Regions from separate parts of the Homo sapiens genome. Here all the other regions are linked to region 1. Evidence: promoter capture Hi-C in 16 types of primary human blood cells and fetal thymus (Javierre and others, 2016). All regions are on one chromosome and are shown on one strand. The core of a region is centred on a gene start or on the middle of the fragment in contact, and the rest is flanking DNA. Distances in the headings are between cores, read along the strand shown.

Region 1 (2,825 bases), core at 1-2,500:
TGAGATCCCTCTGCAGATCCCAGCTGCTGTCTGCAGTGGCCCCTGGGGCCTGGGCTTGGTTACTTGGAGACCACAGGTGCCTGTGCGAGGGTGGGGCTGTGTGCTCTGCTGGCCTGTGGGTGGCTAGAGATGGGGAGAAGGACTCCCTATGGTCCTGTTCCCTGGCGAGGCTGTGGTGAGACCCATGGCGCCCAGGAGCCCTGAGCCCACCACTGGGGCCGGGAGCTGTGGACTCCGAGACCCCTGCTCCTGGCCCCTGTGTGGCCCTGATGCCAGCCTGCCTGGGGCATGGAGGATCCCCCTCTGCTGCTGTGGTCACCATAGGGACGGGAGACGGAGGTTTCCCCCAGAGCTGATGGGCACTGGGGATGCAGGCTCCCGCCCCGCCCCTCCCTTTTTCCTGGCTCTGGAGCCTTGGGTCCCTGAGAAGAGCTTCCTTGGACTGGGGTGCTCTGCTGCTCTGGGGGTTTGGCCCAGAAGGAACCCCTACCCAGCCCTGTCCACCCACCCCAGCGTTCCTGGGCCCCCCTCTGGGAGCTTCCTCTTGGTCCCAGGAGCTGCGGTGGTGTCTGCCCCCTGCACTGGGCTCTGTGCCCTGTGGGTGTTCAGGAGACTGGACTGTCTCTGCTCCTCATGCAAACCTTGTGGGGGAAGCAATGACCAGGAGCAGCACCTGGCCCCTCCCTGAGGCCTGTGAGTGTCTCGGATCCGCCCTGGAGAAGTGAGTGGCTGAGACCCGGGTGGGGCCCTCCTACCCTTGGCTCTGGGGGCTTCCCTTCTGGGTCTTGTCCGGGATATGGCCTTCCTGAAGGTCTTACCTCCCCCAGCCGCCCTGCACTTGACCACCAAAGCAATCTCTAAGCTTATAAAGGAGAAACATATATATATGGGGTTTTTTGGAGTAAAGGAAAATTCTAAGATATTAAGACATATTTTTATGTAGATCTGATCTATCTGTGTTTGGTGAATTTAATATTCTACATTGATTTTTCAAACTAAACGAGTTTTTACATTTTTTCTGTGCTCCTTCCCGGGTAGGGTAAGTGGGGCCCGGGAGAACAAGCACCGCCCCGCCCGTGCCGCCCTTCGCGGAAACGCCGGGGCCGCACGTAGCTAACGGTGCCTTGAGCTGCTGCTGCTGTATGTGGGGTGTTTTTTACGGTCCCTAAAGACGGAAGCGGGGCGGGACGAGGGGGTAGACGGATGGCTTTTACAGCCAGTCAGCGGTGGGAGGAGGGCCAGGCGCGGCAGATCGGCTTCCGGTTCCGGTGGGCTCTGAACCCTGAAAGGTGGGCGCGGGCAGGTGGGGTGTGGGGGGGCGCCGGGGCAGAAGGGGAGGGGCAGGTGGGTGCGGGACAGGGGCCGGAGTGAGAACCGGGGGCCGGGGTAGGGGGTAGCGGGTGAGAGCCGGGGGCCGGGGTAGCGGGTGAGAGCCGGGGGCCGGGGTAGCGGGTGAGAGCCGGGGGCCGGGGTAGCGGGTGAGAGTCGGGGGCCGGGGTAGGGGGTGAGTGCCGGGGGCCTGGCCAGGCTGCGACTGACTGCGAGCCCCCACCTCCCGCCAGGCTCGCGATGCCTCTACACAAGTATCCCGTGTGGCTCTGGAAGCGGCTGCAGCTGCGGGAGGGCATCTGTTCCCGCCTGCCCGGCCACTACCTGCGCTCCCTGGAGGAGGAGCGGACGCCCACTCCCGTGCACTATAGGCCTCATGGGGCCAAGTTCAAGATCAACCCCAAGAACGGGCAGCGGGAGCGTGTGGAGGACGTGCCCATTCCCATCTACTTTCCCCCCGAATCCCAGCGGGGGTTGTGGGGCGGCGAGGGCTGGATCCTGGGCCAAATATATGCCAACAACGACAAGGTGGGTCCGCAGGCGGCCTTCAGGGGCTCCTCTCAGGGCTTGGCTGTGCCGGCTCTGTGCCGGACGCCCGGGGTACCTGGAGAGACCTGGGTGGGCCCTGGGGATTACAGCCTGGAGGCGACACATCTCCGGCAAAGGAGCACGCTGAGTGAAGAACCGCAGTTCTGGCAAACAGGACTGATAAAGTAGGGGTGAGGTGGGGTGACTCAGGCCGGGGGAGCAACCAGAGGCCGTGGGGAGTCGGGGTAAAGTTAGGATGGGGAGGAGGCCTGTGTGATGAGCAGAGCAGGTGGGAGAGGCGAGCAGAGCAGGTGGGGGAGGCGAGCAGAGCTTCGAGGCTGCTTGTGGTGGACTTCCTGGCGGGACTGCTGAAGCCTGTGGGGAGACTTGTGTCACCTCCAGGTTGGAATGTGACAACCTGTAAACTGTGGGGTCGCACATGTTTCTGAAACACATGCAGCAACCATGTGACCAGGGCGGGAACGCCCAGCTTGTTGGGGAGCAGCTGACTTCTGGGTACACAGTCAGGACCCGGGTCGGGCTGGGGCGGCACTGGGCTGGGGGCCGGCCCAGTTAGCTCTAGGTCCCCAGTCTGACAGCAGTGGTTCTGTGATGGAGCCTCCGGGGGGGAGGTGAGGGCAGTTGCCTGGGCCCCCCTTGGTATGTAAGAGAAAGCAGCAGTACTCATGGAGGCTCTGTTGCACCCTCAGCTCTCCAAGAGGCTGAAGAAAGTGTGGAAGCCACAGCTGTTTGAGCGAGAGTTCTACAGTGAGATCCTGGACAAGAAGTTCACAGTGACTGTGACCATGCGGACCCTGGACCTCATCGATGAGGCTTATGGGCTCGACTTTTACATCCTCAAGGCAAGCGGGGTGGGGCGAGTCAGTGCACACAGGGTCTGGGATGGGCCAGTCAGACTCACGGGAGCCCCAGGTCAGCATCACACCGGGGCACGCTGACATCTGCAC
Region 2 (3,381 bases), core at 506-3,005, 310 kb after region 1:
CCCCGAGGTGCCTGACCAGTTCTACCGCCTGTGGCTATCCCTCTTCCTGCACGCCGGGCAAGTGACACTGTGGGCCGGGTCGGGGGTCTCAGGGCCCTCAGGATTGGCTGGCTGGGGGTGGCAGAAAGGTCACTTCCCTGCTGAATGTCTCCCGACCCCCGCCTGCTACTGACTACAGGATCTTGCACTGCCTGGTGTCCATCTGCTTCCAGATGACTGTCCTGCGGGACCTGGAGAAGCTGGCAGGCTGGCACCGCATAGCCATCATCTACCTGCTGAGTGGTGTCACCGGCAACCTGGCCAGTGCCATCTTCCTGCCATACCGAGCAGAGGTAAGGCTGGCCCTCAGGGTGGGGATCCTCCCGTGTGCACCTGCAGCCTGCTGTGAACCTGTCCATATCGAGCACTGAGTCTGGGAGCATCTCCAGTTGGATCCTCGGTCCCAATATGCTCTGGGCCATGGGAAGTGGGGCAGAAAGATGAGGCCTTGGGTCCAGGGGGCCTGCCCAGCCCCACTGCCTTACAGCTACCCCAACCATCCCCCAGGTGGGTCCTGCTGGCTCCCAGTTCGGCATCCTGGCCTGCCTCTTCGTGGAGCTCTTCCAGAGCTGGCAGATCCTGGCGCGGCCCTGGCGTGCCTTCTTCAAGCTGCTGGCTGTGGTGCTCTTCCTCTTCACCTTTGGGCTGCTGCCGTGGATTGACAACTTTGCCCACATCTCAGGGTTCATCAGTGGCCTCTTCCTCTCCTTCGCCTTCTTGCCCTACATCAGCTTTGGCAAGTTCGACCTGTACCGGAAACGCTGCCAGATCATCATCTTTCAGGTGGTCTTCCTGGGCCTCCTGGCTGGCCTGGTGGTCCTCTTCTACGTCTATCCTGTCCGCTGTGAGTGGTGTGAGTTCCTCACCTGCATCCCCTTCACTGACAAGTTCTGTGAGAAGTACGAACTGGACGCTCAGCTCCACTGAGCTGGCTGCGGGCTCCAGCGGCCGTGTGCTCCAGCAGGCCAGAGCCAGACACGACCTCCCTGAGCCTCACAGGCTTACAGGAGTCACCTGCTCCATGTGGGGACTGGCCTGTTTCCTGAACACAGACCTCTTTCTTGTGCCTTGTTCACTTCTGTTGAACCCCTCGTACTGCCGGGCATTTATTATACTACTTCCTGTCATAACCTTCTAACTTGTTTCTTGACGACCACCTCATGTGGCCAATAAATGGACTGGGAGCGTTTTAGCTGCCATTAACTTGACCAGGGCTTCCCTATCCTTCTTTGTTTCTGGCTGGAAGCTGTGGAGGGAGGTCCTGCAGGCCCCTTGTGGCTGACTCACCCGGGCAGGGAACTGAGTGTCAGATACAGTCACGGGCTCTTTCACTTCCCAGTGAAATCCTTCAGCCAGGCACGTGCACCTTGCTCTTTCTTAGAGTGGCTGGTAGCCGACGCTGGGACAGGGACCTAGGGATGTACTGTCATACCCTCCCCACATGCTGGGAAGCACCCCGCCCCCACCCTTAGCAGCTCCAATTTCCACCCCACACTCCCTCCCTGTCCACCGAACCTGCTGCAGGGAACCCTAAAGGCTGAGGCTGGAGGGCCCACACACAGCTGTGCTATGCTTGCTGCCACTGTGAGCTCCAGGATGCAAACCCTAAAGCCGCTCTGCTTTTATTTCCTCCTTGCTGTGGAGATCATGGTAACACAGTTGTGTGGTTTGGGGAGTGGTGTGGCCTCAAGGCTTTGGTGGTGTGGCGCCATCTTGGACTATAGGACTCGCCTGTACCAATTCTCTCCCCTTAACTCACCTCTGTGATGGGGCAATCTCAGTCTTTGCTACCCAGGTTACTGTGGCTTTCTACTTTTCAAACTAAGAAGCAAACAGGTTTATTTTATACAGTGGGCCAGGCCGTGGGTCTGCCATGTGACTAGGGCATTTGGACCTAGGGAGAGGTCAGTCTCAGGCCAAGTACATGAAAGGAGGGAGCACTGGCTCACCCTGTCCTAGTCCTGAGGGCCCCCAGGTTTATGCTGACAGTTACTGTTGGGCATGCCTGGGGTGAGGCCACCACAACGTCCTTTCTGTGAAAGAGGCACGATGATTCGAGGACCCATTCCTGCTGGGAAAAAGCTCAGCCACCAGTGATGAAGAGGGTTGTCCTGTCTGGAGGCTCACTTTTGCCTCAGCTTTTTGATGAAGGAAACCTCGTCTCGATTCCGGATGCCGTAGCTGAAAAAGAAGGAAAGGCATAAAGCACCTGCCCTACAGAAGGACATATCTGTGACTCCCCTCCTGAGGCTGTGGAGGACCACGAAGAAACAACAGAGGGGAGGCGTGTGGCTTCTGGGAAGGCCAGGAAGTGCAGTGGCCATCCTCTCACAGACCCAGAAGCACTCCGACTCACAAGTCCCCGGGGCAGGGAACTGAGTGTCAGATAGAGTCACAGCCTTTCGCCTCCATGCCCACTCTGATTTCCTCCCTCCTGGCACTGTGTAGCCCTAAGCTGCCACTGGTGGGAAGCAGCAAGGCCCCTCCAGCTGCCCTCTGCCTGCCATTCTCCTAGTGGGGAGGGCCCCAAGGAAGCTCCTTGGAGGAGGGTGTTATCTCCGGAGAGGGAGCCGCAGCCCTCTGGCAGAGCATGGGGGACTAAGGGGCAACAGAACAGCGGTGCCCTACGGCTCAGGACGTGGCCGGCACTTACTCTCGGAGCTTCTTTCTGTCTTCCGTGAGTTTCTCTCCTGCAGAGGTCAGATGGTACGTCCTCCACACGTAGGACCTGCAAGAGGGGAATGCAGGTAAACCACGTGCCCTGAGCAGGGTGAGCTGAGTGGCTCTGCATGACGTGGGCTTGAGGCATGCAGTCCTATGGGACCTGGGGCAGCTGTCCTCCCTACCTGGGCTGTTCTGTACAATGTGCAGATTGGGTCTGAGGCAGCTACAAGGAGGCTCTGTTCTCAGAGGGCTGTCTGGGGCGGCTTGGCCAAACAAACCTTGCTAATGCAACAGGCGACAGTGTTGAGACTCAGTGAACAGGATAGTTGATCCAATAGGAGAGTGAGGGCTGACAGCACCCAGGTGAGAAGGGGATGGGAGCCCCTACAGGTGTACCATCCAAAACTAGGGAGGCCACTTCCAGACACACTGGAAATTCCCGACAGTGTCCCCAAGTGAAGATACCCAGCAGCTCGGATGGGGTGATGCCGATGGAAGAGCAGAATGTTGGGGATGGCCGAGGCAGGAGTCCCAGGCACAGAACGACCCGCACTGTCTGTGACAGGGAGCTCATCACTCTTGTGACAGGGAGCTCATCACTTCAGTGGTGCTGTACTCATGCAGAGCTGAGAGCTGTTTCCAGGTGGTGCCTGGTGACAGTGCCAAGAAGGGCACTAG
Region 3 (3,381 bases), core at 30-2,529, 300 kb after region 1:
GATATCAGTGGAAGATGGAGATGAGAACACCCTTGAGGCTTTGAAAGGAGTGAAGGCTAGTATTGGTGCTGGGGTGAGCAGCCCTGACCCCCGACCTCCACAATAGGCCACAGGCTGTGGAGGGGCTGGAGCTGCCTCCAGCTGTAGGAGGTGTGGCCATCAGTCGCTGGAGCCTTTATAAACAAGTCTTTGAGAGATGTGGCTGTATTGGCTACAGGGGCCAGGGTTCTAGTATCAGCCTTATGACCCCAGGGTGCCCAGCACACTGGCTCCGTCTTCTCTCTGATGGAGGGGGGTGCTGACAGCTGTTGAGGTGGGTGTCAGGTCAGAGCCCATGGACTCCTCTACACAGCTTTGAGCTGGCAGCTTCCCAGCAGGGTGGCTGCTGGCCTCTTGACTGGTCTCTGCGGCCATCTGTGTCTGATGAGCCCTGGAGGGCCAAAGCTTCCTTGGGCAGAGAAGGCAGCCACTGGGCAGGCCGAGGTTGGGTGTGTGTGAGCTACATCCTCCCTGCCTGGGGCTGTGCTGCCAGGCCCTGGGCCCAGGTGCTTATGGGAACCCCTTGCCAAACCCTGGGATATGGGGAGGGGGCAGCTGCCTCAGAAATAGCCTATGACTTCAGGCCACTGGCTGGCCTGGCCCCCTTCTGCCTCTTCCCCAAATAGCCAGGAGCTGGTCATGGGCCCATCCCTGGAGCCCTGCTCCCCGGGCGGTTTCTTCTGATCCTTCCAGGGACTCCCCAAAGCCCAGGGTCTGACCCCTTGGGTGATTACTTGTGGCCTAGAAGCTGAGCTGAGGATTCTGGGGTAGCAGAGGATTCTGGGGTAGCTGTTGGGAACACTCCTCTTACTGGTCAGGGCTCCCATTCCCTCGTGTCCTGGTGTGAGGGCCACAAACCCTGGGTTTGGTCTAGACCCTAACCCTAACCCATTCTCAGACGCCTGCCCACCAGCCCCGGGAGTGCTGGGCAACTGCAGCTGATTTCCATTTCTCCAGGGTGCATGACGCGGGAAGAGAGGGGCCGGGAGCTGGGTTTCCGTATAGGGGGCTCCTCCACCAGGACAGAGAGTAGTAGGGCAGGCAGGAGGCAGAGCACACATATGTGCACACACTTGTCTATGTGGACTGGGTACAATCCTGAGTTTCGTGCGCGTCCGTGTGAAGAGACCACCAAGCAGGCTTTGTGTGAGCAACAAGGCTGTTTATTTCACCTGGGTGCAGGCGGGCTGAGTCCGAAGAAAAGAGAGTCAGGGAAGGGAGATGGGGTGGGACCGTTTTATAGGGTTTGGGCGGGCAGTGGAAAATTACAGTCAAAGGGGGTTGTTCTGTGGCGGGGAGGAGTGGGGGTCACAAGGTGCCTCAGTGGGGGAGCTTCTGAGCCAGGAGAAGGAATTTCACAAGGTAATGTCATCAGTTAAGGCAGGAACCGGCCATTTTCACTTCTTTTGTGATTCTTCACTTGCTTCATCTGGATGTATACGTGCAGGCTTGGGCTCAGAGGCCTGACACTGAGCACACGTGTATCGACCCCCCTCTGATCATCCTTCTGATGACCTCACTCAGGAGGCCAGGGTGGGCTGAGAGCCTGGGGATTCCTGGACACAGGCTCTGAGCTGGGGATTTGCCTGCAGAGGCAGACTGGGGCATGCTCCCCACTGAAGGTGACTCCTGGGTGCGGGGGGTTTCAGCTCTGAGCCAGCTGTGACTGGTGCTCCTGGCAGCTGGCGATGAGTGTCTGGGTCTTGGAGCGGGTCTAGGTGGGGTCTGACAGAGTCCACTGCAGGAGGAGACCTGCTGACACCAGATGCCCAGCTGTGGCATGCTTTGGAGGCAAGCCCAGTCCCCAGCTTTCCAGAGAGGACACCACTTCTGGCCCTGCCAGCCTAGTCTGGGCATCCAGGCCCGATAGGGCTTGCTTATCCCTGGCAGGTCAATAATGCTAAGCATGGAGACTGTCCTGTCTCTGGCTGTGAGCCTGGCATGGGAGGGGTGGCACGTGCAGGCTATCGGAGCACTGAGTGTTGGCACTGGGGCAGGCTCCCTCTCACCCGGTGTCCGTGATGCACTGGCAGTCATCCCCTGGTGGAGTTACCCTCCACCCCCTCCAAAGCTTCCATTGTCTCCTTCTACATGAGAATTGTGTTGATATTGCTTGTGTTCAGAGAGCACCCATTATGTGCAGGCACCGCCCTATCCCGTGGCATGGACAAGGATATGGGCAGGGGAATCTTGCCCAGGCTCTGGGATCTACCGGTAAGTGTACCAGCACCTTTAGTTCAAATTCTCCCCTTTTCTGTCTAGCCAAGGAGCAGGCCATTGTCTGCGTCGGGCCCTCAAGTGCAACAGCTCAGTTTGGAGAGGGCTGGTGCCACCCAGACCCAGAGGATGGCACTGAAGCAGCAGCACCTTGTGACCAGCACAGGGCCTGAAGACACATTTGTCCGAGGCATGGGGGGGCACCCTGTAGAGGGGTCCTTAGGGACCCATGGGACGAAGGGATCCCTGCACCCTCTATCCAGAGGAAGCCTTGGCCACCCACCACTCAGAGCTCCTGGACAGCCCTGCCCGTACTCTGCTGTTGGCACCCCTGTCCCCCACCCTGGGAGGGTCAGCCCACCCAGTGTCAGGAGAGAAATGCTGGGAAACTCTCACCAGCAGCCCCAGCGGAAAGCAGAGTGCCATTTTGAGTCCAGCCCAGATTGTGCAGGGATATGAGCCCACCCCGGGGTGGCCGCTGAGCTCTGAGACAGTGAGAAGAGCCCAGAGTGGACACCAGACACTGCGCTGCCTCTGCTGAGTGGCTTCGGGTGGGGCCGGTGCAGCCTGGCCTGAGTGCCTGCTGGTGGAGCGGGGCTTCTGGGGGTAGGGGCACAGGGCAGGGGGAGGGGTAATGACTGTGGTCCTGAACTGAGTGTGTGCATCGGTGTGTACACGTGTGTGTGTGCACGTGTATGTACCCATGAAAGATGTACATGAGTAGGTGGGTGCATGTGAGCACGTGCATGTGCAGGCGAATGAACGCATGAAGTGGAAGGATGTGGGGACGTGTGTGTATGATTGTGAGTGATCGGTGCACATGAATGTGTGTGAGGGAATGTGAGTGCTTAGTGGGATTGGGTGAGTGTGGGATACAGGACTTGTCAGCGTGGGCCTCTGGAGGAGGTCGGGTTTAGGGGAGCCAGGGATACACACCCATCCTCCGCCCTTTACCCCGTGCCTGCTCTCCCTCCTCACCCTCTTCTCAGCACAAATCAGGGCAGGACAGCTCAAGCCTCAATCTGGAGCCAGGGAGAGGCGGAGCCGCCCAGCGCTGACACTGCGGTCCGCTCCCACCAGGTCCTCCGTCGGGCCGAGGCGCTGGAGACCCCAGCCCCAGGTGTC

What was found. The method cuts DNA at HindIII sites, captures the fragments that hold promoters and counts their contacts. A CHiCAGO score of 5 or more calls a contact.
Region 2: a fragment that was not itself captured here is called in contact with the fragment with the promoter of MRPL28 in region 1 in 14 of 17 cell types (erythroblasts, total CD8 T cells, megakaryocytes and 11 more); the score reaches 11.5 in erythroblasts.
Region 3: a fragment that was not itself captured here is called in contact with the fragment with the promoter of MRPL28 in region 1 in 4 of 17 cell types (erythroblasts, activated CD4 T cells, naive CD4 T cells and 1 more); the score reaches 7.1 in erythroblasts.

What each region holds. Positions count from the first base shown.
Region 1 is chr16:368,963-371,787 of GRCh38, reverse strand. It overlaps MRPL28 (mitochondrial ribosomal protein L28), which reads left to right and starts at 1,250. Exons shown (of 6, transcript NM_006428.5): 1 at 1,250-1,289; 2 at 1,563-1,857; 3 at 2,568-2,720. The coding sequence starts at 1,570. PGAP6 (post-GPI attachment to proteins 6) reads left to right here. Exons shown (of 13, transcript NM_021259.3): 13 at 1-1,000. The HindIII fragment of the contact is 7,915 bases long and covers 865-2,825 here.
Region 2 is chr16:55,925-59,305 of GRCh38, reverse strand. SNRNP25 (small nuclear ribonucleoprotein U11/U12 subunit 25) reads right to left here. Exons shown (of 5, transcript NM_024571.4): 4 at 2,693-2,767; 5 at 1,637-2,220. The coding sequence ends at 2,163. RHBDF1 (rhomboid 5 homolog 1) reads left to right here. Exons shown (of 18, transcript NM_022450.5): 16 at 1-57; 17 at 179-332; 18 at 547-1,247. The coding sequence ends at 966. Among named protein-coding and RNA genes, the nearest start is that of SNRNP25, 3.8 kb to the right of the region's middle. The HindIII fragment of the contact is 6,639 bases long and covers 1-3,381 here.
Region 3 is chr16:72,790-76,170 of GRCh38, reverse strand. LOC124903617 (a long non-coding RNA gene) reads right to left here and starts at 3,344. Exons shown (of 2, transcript XR_007064932.1): 1 at 3,235-3,344; 2 at 1,181-1,791. It also overlaps a transcript of RHBDF1 not described here. RefSeq lists enhancers at 874-1,691, 1,692-2,508, 2,509-3,326. The HindIII fragment of the contact is 1,666 bases long and covers 447-2,112 here.